3 separate regions of the Homo sapiens genome follow, and all the other regions are linked to region 3. Evidence: promoter capture Hi-C in human tissues and cell types (Jung and others, 2019). All regions are on one chromosome and are shown on one strand. Each heading gives the region's core, a stretch centred on a gene start or on the middle of the fragment in contact. The rest is flanking DNA. Distances are from core to core; before and after follow the strand shown. Region 1 overlaps POLA2 (DNA polymerase alpha 2, accessory subunit). Region 2 overlaps DPF2 (double PHD fingers 2). Region 3 holds the start of FAU (FAU ubiquitin like and ribosomal protein S30 fusion).

Region 1 (4,601 bases), core at 906-3,405, 170 kb before region 3:
GTCAAGACCGTTAAGCAGCCCCTTGATTTTCTTGGCTGCAGAAAGGGCTGGGACCAGAAAGCCAGTCATCCTGCTTGGGGCCTGGAACACACTTCTTACCTACTGATCTCCTCGGCCCCCAGGTGGAAAAGCAGATCTGTGGATGTCAAGCCGAAGATCACTCCGTTTATGGAGAGGCTGCAGGGCTCGGACACAAACTGTACTTGCTAAAATGAGAACGGATTGAAACAAACATTTGTATGCCAAAGCTAGAAACATCTTCCCATGAAAGTGGGGGTTGTCTGAGGGCTGGGGAGACCACGGAAAGGGGGACCAAACCAACATACATCAAGCTTTTGGACACATTTGCCTGTTTAAAAAAAGGAGTTTAAGATTCAGGCTGTACGCACACCCTAAAGAGGCCTCTCCACCCTCCCCTTCAGGGCCAGAGCTAGTGGCAGAGGCATGCTGGATTCTGGCTGCCTGCTGGTCAAGGAGTGGGTGCTGCTACCTTTTTGTCCTCTCGAGACAGATCGGAGTAGCTGAAAGGCGGCTGGGGGTACACAGGCTCATGGTGCACATCTCTCAATGACGGGACAAAGACAAGGTGGGAGCCGGAGCTAGTATGGCAAAAGAACAAACAGAAGAGTGAGAAAAGTGAGTGCAGTTGAGTTAGAACAGCTGCGCAACAGGTGGGATGCCTCAGGCTGGAGGCAGAGCCCACCCCGAGGGAGGCAGCTCAGAACTGCACTCTGTTATGAACAGAGACGCTGTTTCCCATGGGACACTGGGAGTAAAGGACAGTTTGTTCTACTTCACACCCATCCATCTGGACAGGCTCCGATTGCCTGGGACACTTTCTTGTTGCTCTGTGTGGCTTTCTACTGAGAGGATGGAGACTATTTTTTGGCAGAAAAAGGGGCAAAGAAATGGAGATCTAGAAAGTCTAGAAAGACAAGGATGTGAATAAAGAATCACAGCCTCAGAGCCAGAGTTTAAACCACAGCTTGGACTCATTACACCTTCTAAGCAGGTGTAGCCTGCAGGCAGTAAACAGTGTCCCTGCCACACCTTGGTAGGGTGCATGGAGCTGGGGCATTTTTCCTAGGGAGAAGGCAGGCATACTAAAAAGACCCTGAGACTGCTTTTTTTTTTTTTTTTTTTGAGACAGAGCCTCACTCTGTCGCCCAGGCCGGAGTGCAGTGGCATGATGTGGGCTCACTGCAACCTCATCTCCTGGGTTCAAGTGATACTTGTGTCTCAGCCTCCCGAGTAGCTACAACTACAGGTGCACACCACCACACCCACCTAATTTTTGTATTTTTAGTACAGATAGGGTTTCACCATGTTGGCCAAGCTGGTCTCAAACTCCTGGCCTCAAGTGATCCACCGACCTTGGCCTCCCAAAGTGTTGGGATTACATGTGTGAGCCACCACACCTGGCCTGGCTTCGTATTTAGAAGATCCAGCTGAAACCCTCTGACTGACTGAACACTGGGCCATAATTACTGGACAACCGAGACACAGACATTTCCAGTGGGAGGCAGAAAAGCCCAAGCGGCCTCTCCCTGAGCCATCGCATCCCTCCCCTCTCACACATGGAAATAATGCCCTGAGTTTCTATTTCTCAGCAGGTTGTCATGCAAAAATGAAAGAAATATTTAACAGCAACAGTAAAAGCACAGATGACAGCAGATGTTTCCTTTGATGGAGCAGGAGAATCTCTAGGGTTACAACATACAAGTGAAGAAGAAAGTTGTAACTCTGGGGGCCAACTATTTATTTTTCCCAGCCACACAAAAGAGGAAGAAAGCCCCGTTTCCTTGGTTCCCTTAAGATGACCTTGGCAGAGGGGCCGTTTATAAATCAAATAGGCATAAGGTATTACTTTGCGGGCATGTTTAAAATCCACCAATAGCTCTCACTTCCATCTCTGTCTCTTGCTTAAAACATGTGGACTTCTCAGGCATACATACACTTTCACATGTGATAAAGGTGCTGGTGACAGCTGTCACCCTTATCACTGTTTGTGGTGTCCTCTCAGAGTGTGAACTGAGATGTCTATAACAGAAAATCAGAATCCTGAGACCAAAGGTGTTTGCATATTCATTATTGTCCCTTTGACACTGAGAAGCTCACTAGGGTGATCCAGTCCACCATTTGGGTGCCAGGGTCTGGTAAACAGGCCACAGGGTAACTTGAATGGGACAATCTGTGCTCCACATCTCAAGGGCTTGACATCTGTGATAAACACAAAGGACTGAGGTGCAGCTGGCTGCTCTCAAGGGACAAAATTGCCCTGTTTCAGTGTAGGCTTTGGAAGGGCAATAGTTAAGGAGGAAATAGCCTTCCTGCTCATGGTTAGAAAGCGCCTATAGAAGGAGGGATCAGAAAAACATCCCAACTATGCTCAGCATTGCACAACCTCGTACGTCACAGCGGGAGGGTCCTCCAGCTGCTCCCGCAAACAGGACGAGAACCGCGGGCTCTGCTCGCTTTCTCTGAGGTGCTTTCTCACTGGCTCTTTTTCTTTTTCTGAGATGGAGTCTTGCTGTGTCGCCCAGGCTGGAGTGCAGTGGTGCGATCTCGGCTCATTGCAACCTCTACCTCCTGGGTTCAAGCAATTCTGCCTCAGCCTCCCGAGTAGCTGAGACTACAAGCACCCACCACCACATCTGGCTAATTTTTGTATTTTTAGTAGAGATGGGGTTTCGCCGTGTTGGCCAGGTTGGTCTTGAATTCCTGACCTCAAGTGATCTGCCCGCCTCAGTCTCCTAAAGTGCTGGGATTATAGGCGTGAGCCCCGTGCTTAGCCTGGCTCTGACTTTTACTAATGATGACTCAGCTTAATGCTCTGCATTTCTGACCTCTCAGGAATACAAAGAAATTCTCTGCCCAAGAACTGTTTATATACTGTTTCTAGAAGGGTGGGGCAGCTCCCCCTGCCCTGTGGCACACACTGGCCATAGATGAAAGTGCCTGGTGGTGCTGGGCTCTCATCCCCAGTGTGACAATGCCTCATCTGTGCTTTATTTCTATCACTGCTGTCAATACCACACGGGGTAAGGAACCAAAAACAGAACCCGACCTCAAACTGAAAGCACCCAGCCAGTGTTAGGGCACTACAACACAGTCCCTGCCTATCCCCAAGGGCTGACAAAAGAACACAGCCCTGCTCCTGTGTTTTGGGGGTCTATCTCCTGAGGAGTTCCAACCACTCTCCAGGCCTGATGAACTTGACCAGGATCACAGCAAATCTGGGGAAGAGGGAAGGCACCTGCATCACCTTCATCTGAGGGAGGCAGGGGAGGAAAGGGCAGAACCAGACATGGTTGTCACTGGCACAACCCAAGTCTCTGATTCTGGGGTGAGTTGGGGGATGTTCTTTATTCCAGCTGTGACATCTACCATCCTGGCCCACACTGCTGGTACAAGAAGGTAATGTTACAACTTATTGATTCTGGGATCAGTTCTCATGGCTAAAAGGCGGAAGGTTAGACATCTTATTTTAAAAACCACCTTTGTGACAGACTCGTTTTTAAATGCTTAGCCTCAGGAATATTTGTATTTTATTAGCTCAGCTACAAGCATGCAGATCTTGTGAGGAGATCTACCACCTATACCAACTTCTTTCAAACCCTGGCACTGGGGAAAAGGGACAGGAATGGAGGATGTCAGATTTCTGAATAACTTTCCACTTCCGGCTTTAGCCTCTTCCTGGAACAGTGACTTTCCTCTCAAATGAGAACTGCACAGCTCTCTCATCACTGCTGTAACCTCTCACAGTTCCTTCCGTTTGGTCTATGGCAAGGATTCAAGGCCCCACCCTCACTGAGAGTTTCTATCACCACCAGCTGTAGCCACTGGCAGCTTCCCACGCACCCTGGGGAAGCACTGACTTGGGAGGAACTTGGGCTTACCCAATACAATCACTTACACAACAAGATGTTTGGGGTCTCACAGGATTTCACTGCGTAAGTCATCAAACACTTCTCAAAACCATCCTGGGAAGATTCCCGTGGAATATTAGTTTATACAAAAGGGAGTGAGAAAAGGAACTAAGTATAGAAGAGAAAGAGCAACCAAAGAGTGAGAGCCGATGCAGCCTTGTCAAGTATGTTTATCTTTGTGTTTTACAGAGATGCCTCTTAACTTGCACTTGAAGTTCAAGGGTTCTAGCTGATCTCGGTAGTTCAAAAGGAAGGAAAGAATAGGAACTGCCATGATTTTTTTTTGGAAAAGGAGTTTTGTTCTTGTTGCCCAGGCTGGAGTGCAATGGTGTGGTCTCGGCTCACTGCAACATCTGCCTCCTGGGTTCAAGAGATTCTCCTGCCTCAGCCTCCGCAGTAGTTGGGATTACAGGCATGTGCCACCACGCCCAGCTAATTTTGTAATTTTAGTAGAGATAGGGTTTCACCATATTGATCAGGCTGGTCTTGAACTCCTGACCTCAGGTGATCCGCCTGCTTTGGCCTCCCAAAGTGCGTGAGCCACCACGCCCAGCTTTTTTTTTTTTTTTTTTTTGAGATGGAGTTGCGCTCTTTTTGCCTAGGCTGGAGTGCAACGGCACGATCTTGGCTCACTGCAACCTCTGCCTCCCAGGTTCAAGTGATTCTCCTGCC
Region 2 (3,534 bases), core at 1,029-3,528, 230 kb before region 3:
TCTCCTTGTGGCCCCCGAGCTGCTGGCCTGGCCCCCTGATCCTTCCCCTCTCCCCACAAAACCAAAAGGAGTAGGAAGGGAGGCAGAAGATGAGAAATTCCAAGGGTGGGGAATGCTTCAGTCACTGGAGACCGACCGTAAGAGTGAGCCAGGAGAGCAATGGGAATAACAAGGTGAAGCTACTGTTCCCCCTGGGGTGGGGTGGAATGGGACAGGGCAGAACCAGGAGGGTGACCGAGAACATCCTGACTCCAGAAAAGAACACTCTGTAGCAGGAACACAGGGCCGCAGAGAGCCACTCTGGAGGAAAGAGGTGAGGCTATGCGGCACAGGGGCATGAAAAGCTCCTTGTGGACGTGGCCTCAGCTTGCTCGCTCCCAGCTCCCTGGCCTGGCTTGCCTCTAGAGGACAGGAAAACTCTGGAGACCAGAGGGGAGGCAGAACACAGAGAAGTGAGCTGCTCTCCCACTCTTTCTAGGAGGACACTGTTTGAACCCTGTGATCACCAGGGGCTGGGCCCAAGGCAAGCAGAGTGAATGCACTTAATGGAGAGCAGAGAGAAACTGGGCCACACGCACGCCTAGGGGCAGTGTGTTGCTCCTTTCTCCCTGAGGGCCTGGGGCCAGAGGTGGTCAGAGCTGCCACCTCAGCTTGCAGCTGCCAAAGGCAGGCTGGCACAACCACCCCAAGGTTCTCTGGATTTGTGAAGGAGAGGAGGAAGAAGGGAAAGATGGGTATGAAATATGAAGTGGAGGAGAGAAACAGCCTTAGATATGTCGGGGAGCAGGTGGGTGGCCACATCAAGAGGAGTTCTGGTTCTGGTAGATGGAAGCTTTCTCTTTCAACAGGTCCAGACACAGGTGGCAGCTCCAACTTCCTGCAGAGAGGCAAAATGGGGTCAGGATGGGTCCCACACAATCCCCACCTGCTTGCAATTCCTCTGCTCTTGATACCCCATCTCTATAGCAGGATCAGCTACAGGTAGGACGAGGGATGCTCTGCAGCAGGAAAGTTCCATGGTTTCCTGAGCTGGGATAAACCTCTAAGTCTTCAAATATTATGAAATATCATCCTCTATGGAGATGAAAGAAATAATCATCTAGAGGACTTCAGAATACTGATGCCCAGGCCCTCTTGGCCCTATTAAATCAGAAGTTTTGGGAGTAGGAAGAGGGCCTGGGAAGACAGAAGTTTGTCAAGCACCTCAGTTTTAAGACTTGTGTAGTTTCACTAAAAAACACAAAATAATTGTCCCTTATATGAAAAACAATTGGGTCATTCCTTGTTTATTAATATTGACTATGGCTGAATTCTTCTAATTTTTTTTGAATAAAATTAGTCCTTAATGCCTTGAAATGATAAGCAAAATTATACCTATGCGCATTTGGACATTATTCTAGGGCTTTTATCAGCTCTTCAGAAACAGGTGACTCAAAAATGTAAGTCCTTTCTAACCCAAAGGTCAATACGGTTGGCAAAGTTTTCTGTAAAGAGCCAGAGTGTTAAATATTTTAGGGTGTGTGAGCCACATACAGTCTCATGCATTTTTTTTTTAACTCCCTTTATTTTTTTTTTTTCTGAGACAAGAGTTTCCGCTCTGTTGCTCAGGCTGGAGTACAGCAGTGTGATCTCAGCTTACTCTAACCTCTGCCTCCCAGATTCAAGCAATTCTCTTGCCTCAGCCTCTATAGTAGCTGAGATTACAAGCGCACAGCACCACGCCCAGCTAATTTCTCTATTTTTAGTAAAGATGGGGTTTTGCCATGCTGCCCAGGCTGGTCTTGAACCCCTGGGCTCAAGAGATCCCAAAGTGCTGGGATTACAGATGCGAGCCACAGTGCACAGCCAGTTTTTATATTTTTAAGGGGATTTTCTTCAGGCTAGATGCAGTGGTTCACACCTGTAATCCCAGCACTTTGGGAAGCTGAGGTGGGTGGATCACTTGAGCCCAGGAGTTCGAGACCAGCCTGGGCACCATGGCAAAACCCCGTCTCTACTAAAAATACAAAAATTAGCCGGGTGTGGTGGCATGCCTGTAGTCCCAGGTACTCAGGAGGCTGAGGTGGGAGGATTACCAGATTACCTGAGCCCGGGGAAGCAGAGGTTGCAGTGAGCTGAGATCATGCCACTCCACTCCAACATGGGCAACAGAACAAGACACTGTCTCAAAAAAAAAAAAAAAAAAGAAAGAAAGAAAAAGAAAAAGAGAAAAGAAAAGAAAACAAAACAGCTTGCAAGCTATTTAAGCTGGCTGTGGCTGGATGTGGTCCATAGGTTTTAGCTTGTAGCTTGCTGACCCTGACCTAGAACATCTGATACTTCTAGGGGTTGCCCCTCAGCTGCCTTAACACTACAGTGAGGACACTCGGGCCTGCAGCTCTCCACTACCTCGATGTCCCACAGAACTTTAATAGGAAAGCCATTCTGTAACATAGATCATCTGTTTGATGGTTTAAAAAAACAAAACAAAACAAAACATAAACATGCGACTTCTCCCCAAAGCAGATTCATAAACTGGGCCTGACAGAAGCTGAGTACTCCCCTACAGCTGCTAAAGGACTCTTAGACATTGTCAGGGGCCTCATTCTCTAGAGGGGTGACAGCAGTTTGACCGATATGTTACAAGTCAGCTTACATCACACAATGAAACACTTTCTCTTGCCTGTAATGCTGGCCCACATCCTTTGTGCACAGTAACAGCTCCTGGGCATTTGTGTTCTGAGTAAGCTACTGAATTTCTGTTGGCTTTTTTTTTTTTTTCTTTGAGATGGAGTCTCGCTCTGTCGCCCAGGCTGGAGTGCAGTGGTGCGATCTCGGTTCACTGCAAGCTCCGCTTCCCGGGTTCACGCCATTCTCCTGCCTCAGCCTCCTGAGTAGCTGGGACTACAGGCGCCCGCCACCACAGCCGGCTAATTTTTTTGTATTTTTAGTAGAGACGGGGTTTCACCGTGTTAGCCAGGATGGTCTCCATGTCCTGACCTCGTGATCCGCCCACCTCGGCCTCCCAAAGTGCTGGGATTACAGGCTTGAGCCACCGCGCCCAGCTGCTACTCAATTTCTGTACAGGAGGTGTTTATGTACAGAAATCCAGCTGGAAGGGGACTTGTGGAGATGCAACCAATTCTTGGTGCCACCACTGGTTTCAGTGAATAGCTTTAATAAATTTGGACCATTATTACAGTAAGTTATCGGAGAAGCAGACTGACCCATTCAGGCTCCAAAGTCAAGTCCCTTCCCAGTTCAGAAGGGGAAGGGATAGGAAATAAATGCTCAAATCTATCAAATTTCAAGAGTTGACTGCAGAAGTTTCACATCAGATAATCTACCACTTGAGTTTTCTGGACTGGTTGGAAGAAAATAAATCATTCCTTCTGGGTGCCTGATCTCGGCTCAGCATCTGCTTTCTTCTGGGCTGTTGATTTTCTGTTGTAAATGTAGCTGATAATGTGCAAACACTAAACCCTTTAAGTTGAAATGTTAGGAAGGCATTCTAAACTGAGCCAAGGCAAGGTGCTTTACTCCCTAATTTGGAAG
Region 3 (4,807 bases), core at 777-3,276:
ATCCCAGCACCTTGGAGGCTGAGGCAGGAGGATCATCTAAGGTCAGGAGTTCAACACCAGCCTGGCCAACATGGCGAAACCCCATCTCTACTGAAAATACAAAAATTAGCCGGGCATGGTGGTGCATGCCTGTAATCCCAGCTACTTGGGAGGCTGAGGCAGGAGAATTGCTTGAACCCAGGAGGTGGAGGTTGCAGTGAGCTAAGATCGCACCATTGCACTCCAGCCTCGGTGACAGAGCGACGAGACTCTCTCAAACAAAACAAAACAAAACAAATTCCTGCATGGCCATCTGTCCAACAACTGCCTGTCCAATCTTGAACTGGCACCACCCATGTTATTCATCCTTGTAGCCAAGGATAACTGTCTCAAAACAATTATGTAATACTCATTTTTCCTTTCCTTTATTTATTTTTATTATTTTTTTAGATAGAGTCTCACTCTGTCACCTAGGCTGGAGTGCAGTGGTGTGATCTCGGCTCACTGCAACCTCCGCCTCCCAAGTTCAAGCAAGTCTCCTACCTCAGCCTCCCAAGTAGCTGGGACTACAGGCACACGCCATCACACCCGGCTAATTTTTGTATTTTTTCTAGAGACGGGTTTCACCATGTTGGCCAGGCTTGTCTCAAACTCCTGACTCCAGGTGATCTACGCGCCTTGGCCTCCCAAAGTGCTGGGATTACAGGCGTGAGCCACCGTGCCTGGCCCATTTTTCTGTTAAAAACCTTTGTCTTCTTTTACCTCCCTGATAAGCACATAGTCTATACCCATTCCCGAATAAATATCCTTTTCTTTTAGAGTCTGTTATTTAGGTTGACATAAGATAGCACCAGTCTTTGGTTTTCCATGGTGCAGGGTACAGATGGGATGGAAAGGAGGCTCAGGTACTCTGAATGGTCTGCCTCTCAGGATTTCTGTGGGATGCAAAAGAGTATATGTACACTTCTGAAAAGTCAATCAAGCCTTTAGAAACTTAAGGCTTAACTTTCTGTCTCGGTTTTAGAAATAGATATTATTATATTGGCAGCGTGGCCTTGTTTGTACCTCCATGATTGCCTGGCTGGCCTTGCTAACCTAATCACATCTGTGACGGGATATAGTGATGTTTAATCTTATGATTGCCTTAAGAATTAAGGCAATCAGACGGGTTCGGCGGCTCATGCCTGTAATCCCAGCACTTTGGGAGGCCGAGGCGGGCGGATCACGAGGTCAGAAGATCCAGTCCATCCTGGCTAACAAGGTGAAACCCCGTCTCTACTAAAAATACAAAAAATTAGCCGGGCATGGTGGCGGGAGCCTGTAGTCCCAGCTACTCGGGAGGCTGAGGCAGGAGGATGGCGTGAATCTGGGAGGCGGAGCTTGCAGTGGGCCGAGATCGCGCCACTGCCCTCCAGCCTGGGCGACAGAGCGAGACTCCGTCTCAAAAAAAAAAAAAAAAAGAATTAAGGCAATCATAATTCCCCACGCACACTCATATGCTAGGACCCCGCCCCTTACCTGAAACGTTGTGGCTTATATAGACACTGCCAGGCACTGTGTTAAGTGCTCCCAAAGAGCACCCCAGTCTACCATTTTCCCTCTCGATTCTATATGTACACTCGGGACAAGTTCTCCTGATCGAAAACGGCAAAACTAAGGCCCCAAGTAGGAATGCCTTAGTTTTCGGGGTTAACAATGATTAACACTGAGCCTCACACCCACGCGATGCCCTCAGCTCCTCGCTCAGCGCTCTCACCAACAGCCGTAGCCCGCAGCCCCGCTGGACACCGGTTCTCCATCCCCGCAGCGTAGCCCGGAACATGGTAGCTGCCATCTTTACCTGCTACGCCAGCCTTCTGTGCGCGCAACTGTCTGGTCCCGCCCCGTCCTGCGCGAGCTGCCTGCCCAGGCAGGTTCGCCGGTGCGAGCGTAAAGGGGCGGAGCTAGGACTGCCTTGGGCGGTACAAATAGCAGGGAACCGCGCGGTCGCTCAGCAGTGACGTGACACGCAGCCCACGGTCTGTACTGACGCGCCCTCGCTTCTTCCTCTTTCTCGACTCCATCTTCGCGGTAGCTGGGACCGCCGTTCAGGTAAGAATGGGGCCTTGGCTGGATCCGAAGGGCTTGTAGCAGGTTGGCTGCGGGGTCAGAAGGCGCGGGGGGAACCGAAGAACGGGGCCTGCTCCGTGGCCCTGCTCCAGTCCCTATCCGAACTCCTTGGGAGGCCTGGCCTTCCCCACGTGAGCCGCCGCGACCACCATCCCGTCGCGATCGTTTCTGGACCGCTTTCCACTCCCAAATCTCCTTTATCCCAGAGCATTTCTTGGCTTCTCTTACAAGCCGTCTTTTCTTTACTCAGTCGCCAATATGCAGCTCTTTGTCCGCGCCCAGGAGCTACACACCTTCGAGGTGACCGGCCAGGAAACGGTCGCCCAGATCAAGGTAAGGCTGCTTGGTGCGCCCTGGGTTCCATTTTCTTGTGCTCTTCACTCTCGCGGCCCGAGGGAACGCTTACGAGCCTTATCTTTCCCTGTAGGCTCATGTAGCCTCACTGGAGGGCATTGCCCCGGAAGATCAAGTCGTGCTCCTGGCAGGCGCGCCCCTGGAGGATGAGGCCACTCTGGGCCAGTGCGGGGTGGAGGCCCTGACTACCCTGGAAGTAGCAGGCCGCATGCTTGGAGGTGAGTGAGAGAGGAATGTTCTTTGAAGTACCGGTAAGCGTCTAGTGAGTGTGGGGTGCATAGTCCTGACAGCTGAGTGTCACACCTATGGTAATAGAGTACTTCTCACTGTCTTCAGTTCAGAGTGATTCTTCCTGTTTACATCCCTCATGTTGAACACAGACGTCCATGGGAGACTGAGCCAGAGTGTAGTTGTATTTCAGTCACATCACGAGATCCTAGTCTGGTTATCAGCTTCCACACTAAAATTAGGTCAGACCAGGGCCCCCAAAGTGCTCTATAAAATTAGAAGCTGGAAGATCCTGAAATGAAACTTAAGATTTCAAGGTCAAATATCTGCAACTTTGTTCTCATTACCTATTGGGCGCAGCTTCTCTTTAAAGGCTTGAATTGAGAAAAGAGGGGTTCTGCTGGGTGGCACCTTCTTGCTCTTACCTGCTGGTGCCTTCCTTTCCCACTACAGGTAAAGTCCATGGTTCCCTGGCCCGTGCTGGAAAAGTGAGAGGTCAGACTCCTAAGGTGAGTGAGAGTATTAGTGGTCATGGTGTTAGGACTTTTTTTCCTTTCACAGCTAAACCAAGTCCCTGGGCTCTTACTCGGTTTGCCTTCTCCCTCCCTGGAGATGAGCCTGAGGGAAGGGATGCTAGGTGTGGAAGACAGGAACCAGGGCCTGATTAACCTTCCCTTCTCCAGGTGGCCAAACAGGAGAAGAAGAAGAAGAAGACAGGTCGGGCTAAGCGGCGGATGCAGTACAACCGGCGCTTTGTCAACGTTGTGCCCACCTTTGGCAAGAAGAAGGGCCCCAATGCCAACTCTTAAGTCTTTTGTAATTCTGGCTTTCTCTAATAAAAAAGCCACTTAGTTCAGTCATCGCATTGTTTCATCTTTACTTGCAAGGCCTCAGGGAGAGGTGTGCTTCTCGGGTTGGTGGTATGTCCCCTAGGAGAACAGTGAGGCAGAAAAGGCAGAAGCCTTTGGTATGGGGGGAAGAAATGGTAAACTACAAGAGAAATTTCCTGTGAAGAAACAGCTACAGATCCTGGGGGGCTTCAGATGTAAAATTGGGGTTATTCCCTATCCTAAGTAACTTGATCAGTCCCCCCAGGTCATTCTTTTTCATCTTCTAAACAGAGAAGGTAGCAGGAATCACTGTGGTGAGAGGTTTGTTATGGAGGCAGCAATAGAAGGGATGGGTGGGGGAAGAGGTTTGTATAGAAGGTGAACCTGGCCGTTCCCTGAACTTGGTACCAGCTGTGGCCTTAGAGTCCAGGGCAGGAATCTGGTCTGCCTTGGTTTTAGAAGTAAATATTATGTTGGGAGCATGGCCTCGTTTGTACCTCTGTGACTGCCTGGCCGGACTTGGTAACCTAATCACATCTGTGATTGGATATAGTGAGGTTTCAGTGTTCCCAAAAGTTGGGTTACCTCTGGGGCTGATTCAGGGTTCTCTTCTGGCAACTGAGCCTCCCAGCACTTCTGAACCCCACTTACTCATTCAGCTAAAGTTTCTGGACCTGCCAGTTCTTGAGAAATAGCATCCAACAGGGTAAAGCCCTTGGGCTGTGGACTTTGACTGCCTGAGTTTGGACCTTCTTTTTCTTCCTACTCCATTTACTGGGTGGCTGGCCTTTGAACTAACTACTAATTTAATCTCTGCCATCTCCAGGGCTGCTGTGAGGGTTAAAGGATGTAAATCAACATCTGGCTTACAGTGAGTGTGTGAATCTTGGCTATTTTTGTCTCTGTGGTGTTAAAGACATGGTTTCTGCCTTCCAGCAGTTTAGAAAGGGGGAGGATGTGGACAGATACAATAGCATCCCAGAGAGGGCCTCTTTTTTTGTTTTTCTTTTTTCTTTATTTTATTTTATTGAGACAGAGTCTCGCACTGTCGCCAGGCTGGAGTGCAGTGGCACAATCCGAGCTCACTGCAACCTCAGCCTCCCGGGTTCACGCCATTCTCCTGCCTCAGCCCCCTGAGTAGCTGGGACTACAGGCATGTGCCACCACGCCCAGCTAATTTTTGTATTTTTAGTAGACATGGGGTTTCCCCATGTTGGCCAGGATGGTCTCGATCTCTTGACCTCGTGATCGCCCACCTCGGCCTCCCAAAGTACTGGGATTACAGCCATGAGCCACAGTGCCCGGCC

The links. The method cuts DNA at HindIII sites, captures the fragments that hold promoters and counts their contacts. A contact is called where the count stands out against the background at its distance.
Region 1: a contact is called between a fragment that was not itself captured here and the fragment with the promoter of FAU in region 3, in 1 of the 25 tissues and cell types used here (dorsolateral prefrontal cortex).
Region 2: a contact is called between a fragment that was not itself captured here and the fragment with the promoter of FAU in region 3, in 1 of the 25 tissues and cell types used here (dorsolateral prefrontal cortex).

What each region holds. Positions count from the first base shown.
Region 1 is chr11:65,290,151-65,294,751 of GRCh38, reverse strand. POLA2 (DNA polymerase alpha 2, accessory subunit) reads right to left here. Exons shown (of 18, transcript NM_002689.4): 14 at 491-599; 15 at 100-206. It overlaps LOC105369344 (a long non-coding RNA gene), which reads left to right. Exons shown (of 3, transcript XR_007062727.1): 3 at 1-979. Among named protein-coding and RNA genes, the nearest start is that of CDC42EP2, 22 kb to the left of the region's middle. The HindIII fragment of the contact is 5,857 bases long and covers 1-4,601 here.
Region 2 is chr11:65,349,026-65,352,559 of GRCh38, reverse strand. DPF2 (double PHD fingers 2) reads right to left here. Exons shown (of 11, transcript NM_006268.5): 11 at 1-877. The coding sequence ends at 801. Among named protein-coding and RNA genes, the nearest start is that of TIGD3, 4.0 kb to the left of the region's middle. The HindIII fragment of the contact is 5,512 bases long and covers 1-3,534 here.
Region 3 is chr11:65,119,353-65,124,159 of GRCh38, reverse strand. FAU (FAU ubiquitin like and ribosomal protein S30 fusion) reads left to right here and starts at 2,026. Exons shown (of 5, transcript NM_001997.5): 1 at 2,026-2,070; 2 at 2,339-2,421; 3 at 2,516-2,660; 4 at 3,124-3,179; 5 at 3,354-3,530. The coding sequence starts at 2,347. The coding sequence ends at 3,479. It overlaps MRPL49 (mitochondrial ribosomal protein L49), which reads right to left and starts at 1,839. Exons shown (of 4, transcript NM_004927.4): 1 at 1,736-1,839. The coding sequence starts at 1,813. RefSeq lists enhancers at 1,549-1,818, 1,979-2,068. The HindIII fragment of the contact is 8,684 bases long and covers 1-2,454 here.